Regions from separate parts of the Homo sapiens genome. Here region 1 is linked to region 2. The links are contacts of gene promoters, found by promoter capture Hi-C in blood cells and fetal thymus (Javierre and others, 2016). All regions are on one chromosome and are shown on one strand. The core of a region is centred on a gene start or on the middle of the fragment in contact, and the rest is flanking DNA. Distances in the headings are between cores, read along the strand shown. Region 1 overlaps CAPN13 (calpain 13). Region 2 holds the start of XDH (xanthine dehydrogenase).

Region 1 (3,171 bases), core at 543-3,042, 670 kb after region 2:
TCTGGTCCCTGACATCCCAGCTATGAAGTGGAGGGTTGGGATGGGCATTGAGAGAAGCACTCAGGTGCAAGGAGCCATCAGCGTCTCAGGTCCCAGAGCTGGAGAACAAAGTGGCACTTAATCCAGGAAAAGCACAGAACCCATCCCTAGAACTAGAGTCAGGTCTGTGCATGACCAGTCCTGGGTGTGTGGTTTGTTGATGCTGGATACTCTAAGCAATTGACCAAGAACCCCCACGTTGTTCCCCCACACTCACACTTCTCACTGCCACTGAGCAAGTCTGTTCTGAAGGATCAGGAGCCTGGACAGGGCTATGAGGGGTCAACAGAGGGAGCAGGACAAGATAACGGGTGAGCAGGGAGACTGTTGCCTTCTAATTATAGGAGGCATGCTGCCCACACACCTCTGCATGCCCACTGCCTCCCCATGCACCCACACATGCATGCACACTCGCCCATACCCAGAGCCACGGGACACTGCTGACCCTCTGGAGAAGAACTGATTCCATCATTGCTTTTGCCATAAGGGCCCAAGCAAGTCAGGCTCCCAAACCTGCTGAGGCTATTGTTAATGTCAGCAGAATCGCGTTGGAGATGCCACCCTCCCATACCCCTGGGGCAGTGGCCTATCTCCTGTTTTACCTTGGAGCCCAGCCCTGTCCCTACCCCTGAAAAGAAACTTTCCCCTTTCCCGTTTTCCCTGCAAGGCATAGCTCATAAATAATCATTTCCTGCTGCATAACCATTCGAAATGGAATCCCTATGCTTGACTATAGTGGGGAAAATTTGTTTAGCAAGGGGTTTTCATTATATAATATGTATGTGACATCTGGTAATAGGAACTGCATTATATTTATTGTTTTATCTCTAAGAAAACATTGAAATAAAAGGAAAATGATCAGGGCCCATTATTCTCCAATGAGAAGGAATCTCGGGGCTTCACTGGAGAGATGAAACAGAGAAAGTGAAAAGAATTCAATTCTGTAATGGTATAGCAGTCCAAAGTATTCTGCTAAACATTCAGGAGAGAAGGGGCTTTAGGGGCCCCAGAAGAAAATCAGTGTCAAAATGATGTCACTAGTTTCCATGGAAGTTTTCTCTCTATATAAGCAGGGAGAGAAAACTCAGAAACTCAGGATGCTGTTAGACCCAATGAGATGAAACTGTGTGTGGTATTTCCTTGCATCCATTGTGTCCAGGGTCTAGATGAAATGACAGGCTAAACACTACTGCTTTTTGAGACTTCAGCTGAGCACTGTCTCCATTTATAGAGCCTGTAATGTTATCTTGGTGAATGGAGACGGTCTAGAAGGTGGTGGGTCTTTCTTGGTGACTGGGGTCCATGCACAGAGGAGGCTTTCTCACAATCATTGTGTTTCCTCTAATTCCAGCGGTTCCGGGAGAAATTTCCACCCGTGTTTTTTTCCTCGTTCAGAAACACTGTCCAAAGCTCAAATAATAAATTCCGCCGCAACTTCACCATGACTTACCATCTGAGCCCTGGGAACTATGTTGTGGTTGCACAGACACGGAGAAAATCAGCGGAGTTCTTGCTCCGAATCTTCCTGAAAATGCCAGACAGTGACAGGTACAGAACCCTCTGGGATTGTAAATGTTTTATTCTACTTAACTTTATAAAAACACATTGTGTAATTATGGGCAGTTCTCTGTGCATTCGTGCAGCCTGTGCTATGTCACTGGGGACATGATATTGGCCCCACTCTAGAGCAGCTCACCATAAAGGGGGAGCGAGAAAGTCTATGAACCAAGAACCAGACCACAAACAGGATGGGTCCATTGCCAGATGGAAATGCAAAGTGGCACGGGAGGACTGAGTGGCAAGAGGGACTGAGGAAGGCTTCTTGAGGGAAATGACACGTGAGCTGGGCTTTGAAGAAAAACATAATTTAATAGTTTAAAAGGGAAGGCGATGGTAGCCATGGGAAGGTAGGTAGAAGAAAAAAGCATGAATGGCGGGAGGGAAGTGGCTGTGCACAGGGCTGCTTGGAGAGTAAGTAGCATCGGCATCCATACAGGAAGGTGGCATTTGGCCAGCATATCACATGGCCTGAAATGTGGGGTATAGCAGGGAGACAGTGAAAGATGGGCCTGAAAGAAAGAGTCCATCATGGAGGGTCTTCCATGCCAACTTGATCATTCAAGACTGGGACCAGCAAGTGCTCACCCCACTGGGCCCCTTGTCTCCTCTTGGGCCCAAGACAGACATTGCCATCATTATGGCAGTCTTTGCAGCTGAGCATTGGTGAGACCTTCTAAGTCCAGCATGCCAGGCCGCCATCATACCACCAATCAGAGATGGAACCTAAGGCAGAGCCTATCTGCCATACTGACAATGGGGGTTGCTGGAAGTGTGTATCGGGTTGTGGAAGGAACCATTTACTAAACAGTTAAAGACCAGACCATTTCCAGCCAAAAGGCTGGGCTGGTGGCCACGGTGCTGTAGCTGCTCACTTCGTGTCCTGCGGTGCTGAGGGTGCCCCATTCAGGAACTTGGCATCAATATCCAGTGCCACCTGGGTGCCCTCTATATGCAGGCCCCCTTTGAGTGGTGAGCTGGTCATCTTTGTCACACTGTCCTCTGATTTTCTAGGCACCTGAGCAGCCATTTCAACCTCAGAATGAAGGTAGGTATGCAGCAAGGTTTGGCTGGCGAGCCTCATTGGCCCCATCCCATCCCCAAGAGCTTCCGTCTCCTTCTTTACACCTCCCGCTGCCCCCAACCAATGAAAAGAGAGACACCATGATAGGCCGATGAAGGCTCAAAGGGGCGGGGTAGGGGGAGAAGACCAGGCCTCCAAGGCCAGGCTCAACCCAGCCCTCTTCCTTCCACAAACTTCAGTTTTCTCATTCCCCAGAAGGCTTTTTCCAACTGCCCAATAAAGACTCTTTCTCAGATCTTGGCAGGGGTTGTTGCACCCTTGCTGTACCAGATGGGTGGCCTCCTTCCCCAGAAGTCTAACATTGACTATTTTCCCTTTGATCCAGGGAAGCCCTTCAGAACATGGCTCCCAACAAAGCATTTTCAACAGATATGCTCAGCAGGTATGGTACCTAGCACCCAGGGGCCTTACGTGGGATTGGAGAAAGGGGACCTGAGGGAGGGACAGCTCTCACAGGCCCTTACTGGGATGCAGAGAGGAGAAGTGACTTG
Region 2 (3,222 bases), core at 147-2,646:
CATCCCAGTTTGCCCTGGACTGAAGGATTTACTAGGATCTCTGAGGCATTTGTCAGGGATTCAAGGCTAAAACTAGGATAGTCCAGGGCAAACTGGGATATTTGGTCAACCAACAAGTAAAGTTTCATCTCCTGGTTAAATTAAGGCTGTGGTGAGAGGGGGCATTGTGTTGATTGTGTGGTTGTCCTGTCAGTCTTCAGTTTCTCTAAGCTGTTGCTATATCAAGTACATCTGCCTAATACTCCTTTCTTCCCCCTCAGGTAGCCTGCTAGGGTTGTAGGGGAGGTGTCTTACTTAAGGAAGGCTGGCTGAGCCACTGTATGGGTCATTACAGGACAGAAGAAGACCAGAGTGAATGCTGGTCTCTGTGTGTTTTTTTTTTTTTTTTTTTTTTTTTTTTTGCGTGTGTGTGTGTGTTGAACTAAAGAACTGGTAGGGGCAGTTGGGAGGGTGCTGGACTGCAGAGAGCCCTTTAGTGCTGCTCCAGTGGACGTGCACATCTGTGTTTCCACTGAGAGTTAATGGATATTGGATGGGGAAAGGTTTTCAGCTATGTGTTACTGTAGCCTATGACTATGTGGTATGAGCATTTTAATTTATTTGGTGTTTTGAAATACTTTTATGAGTTACTCTGACAACTTGTCAAGGATATTTTCCTGAGAGAAACAAATAAAAGACAAATCTCAAAAATAGTTTGCTATTAGGATTTTATTTGTTGAGATGTTGAAGATGTCTTTTCAACAGTGATACATGTTTTGGTTCTTTGCAAATTTACAAGGCACTCCCAAAATGTCATTTGTCCCTCATTCTTCTATTCTTGATATCATTCTATGATCCTGTACAGGATGAAAGCAACTGAGTTCTGAAGGTAGTAAGTAACATGCTGAGGTCAAATGCCAGGATTTGAGTCAGGTTCATGGGGCTCCATGTCCTGTGACCTCTCTGCTCCACCAGGCTGTGAAAGAATGACTCTTGCATTCATGCAGTCAGTCTGTGTTGCTGTAAACCTGAATGGTAAAATGACAAATGTAGACACAGAGGGTGTGAATCAGCTCTATTAGCAGTGACTCTGAGAATAGTCCTTTCCCTCCTCTGTCTTCCCCTTCTCTGTCTTGCAGCAAGTGGGAGGACGAAGCAGGTTTCATAAGAGCAGCGCCCAAGACCCACAGTCGCCTAGTGCCAAGTCAACAACCTTACTGATATCTGGATGTAGTTTCCTGTGCTCTTTGACACAGGTGTGGAGATTGTAATTTGCTGTGTGTGATTGTTTGCACTTCCTTGATTATGTAAACCAGTGGCTTTTGCCAAGAACTCTTCATGCCCTGAAGCTCTGAGCTGGTTCCCTCCCATTGGTGGACCTTATTTCATTTTATTGGGAGGCGTAACTTTCAGGTCACAGAGCAGTGATAACTACCTGCCAGTGTCTCTTAGGAGTGAGGTACCTGGAGTTCGGGGACCCCAACCTGTGACAATGACAGCAGACAAATTGGTTTTCTTTGTGAATGGCAGAAAGGTAAGTAGGAGCTGACCTTTGGTTTTGTGTCCCTTCTCCCTGGGAGGGGAAATGTGTCCTCTGGCAGAGCCATATCTTGTTCTCTGTCTTTCCTGTCCCCTCTTACTTGTTCTGTCTTTCTCTCTCTCGCTTTAAAGGTGTCGCTGCATTTTGGTAACATTAGGGAAGAAGACCTTCTCGGGGCTAGAGCACAGACAAGATACTCAGAGGCCAAAGAATGAGGGAGAGAGAGGCAAGCAGAGAGGCATCTGTGAGCTAGCTGCCAACTCTCTGCAGTAGTGGAGATTGGCACAGAATGAGAAAGGGGAGTTGAGTTCTAGGTGAGATTTGAGGTCATCACCACACTTCTATTTCTGTCTTTAATCAAATATATCCTAAAATTTACGTTGCTCTCTTTACAGAGAGAAGGAACAGGAATGTGTTTTCCTGCTTTTATCAGGATATAAGATGTACGCAGCCTTTGATTCTAATATATTATATATATAGGTTTAACAGCCAGTCCTGATTCACTGTGAGGTGACATATACTGACACCTTGTGGCAAACCACAATTTTTTTTTCATAAAGGGCATCTCCTGCATTCCCCCCACTCCCCACCCACACACAGTGAGTTCTACATGTAAGCTGCAAATCTGTTACCTACTTGAATTTACCTTATTGGTACACAGGGACTTAGGGAAGGTGACATGGGTACCAGCCCTTGGACAAGAGTGAGAATCTTTGCAAATTTTAATGTGGTGCAGAGAGAGAGGGGGCAAGCATATTACATGGTCACTAGCCTCCATTTGCCCTCCTACAACACTGCTGAGATGCTCATACCTGTTCAACTTCCCACTTAGGAATGAAAAGGATAGTAAAAGAGTCCCATAGTTGCACATTGTAACTTACTGTGTGGACTGTGCGTGATGAATGTGCCCAAAGTGTCCCCCAAAGAAGGGCAATTTTATTTGTCTTTCTATATTGGCATTTTTGCATTGAGTTGAGAAACTTTTGATGTAATTTTGAGTGACTTTTGGTATAATTTTCAAGAACAATAATGTGCTTCACTGGACTCCTAGGTCTTAAATTTCCAGGATGTGTTTGGGTGACTGTAAAAGAAATTTCATGAACTGTTTCAACGTCAGTGCTCCAAAGATTGATGGACTCTCTTTGAGTGGTGCCTTTGGGAAGTGCTGGGGAATGGGGACAGCCATGTTCTTCTGGGTTCAGAGTTTCCTCTCTGAGCTGCATCCTTTTCAGGGTTGGCACCTGGTACCAACCCAAGAAGTAGGGCAAAGCTTTCAAGTGTAAGATTTTGCATCCAGCATTTCAAACAACTTCTTTCCTTCAGCAATTACATTGTAGAAATCTAGGAAACCATTGTGCAATTGGCTTTCTAGGAGAGCTACTTACACAAAGCCATCTCTGGAATTTTTATTAGTAATTTTTACATTGGGTAAACAGCTAGATTCAATGACGTCCAAGGTCATGTCTTACTCTGAGGTTTTATTATTTATTAAACCAAACCATTGGTTAACCTGTAAAAGTATAAGTTTCTGCTCTTCTTCAGGGATGGCTTGCTGTTATGCACTAAATCTAGAAAGAAGAATTTCAAGGTAAATCTGGCTTGGGGAAAATTATTTTCCCTTGCATTTTACTTTCACTTTAGGAGAGTAATTTTAAATTTTTCGATGGTACCATCACATCAAATCCTATTATTTCTAGAAGCTT

Evidence for each region. The method cuts DNA at HindIII sites, captures the fragments that hold promoters and counts their contacts. A CHiCAGO score of 5 or more calls a contact.
Region 1: a fragment that was not itself captured here is called in contact with the fragment with the promoter of XDH in region 2 in 1 of 17 cell types (total B cells); the score reaches 5.5 in total B cells.

Annotation. Positions count from the first base shown.
Region 1 is chr2:30,741,799-30,744,969 of GRCh38, reverse strand. It overlaps CAPN13 (calpain 13), which reads left to right. Exons shown (of 23, transcript NM_144575.3): 13 at 1,391-1,587; 14 at 2,611-2,644; 15 at 3,006-3,062. Among named protein-coding and RNA genes, the nearest start is that of CAPN13, 64 kb to the left of the region's middle. The HindIII fragment of the contact is 4,692 bases long and covers 1-3,171 here.
Region 2 is chr2:31,412,916-31,416,137 of GRCh38, reverse strand. XDH (xanthine dehydrogenase) reads left to right here and starts at 1,396. Exons shown (of 36, transcript NM_000379.4): 1 at 1,396-1,513. The coding sequence starts at 1,472. The HindIII fragment of the contact is 5,234 bases long and covers 1-2,791 here.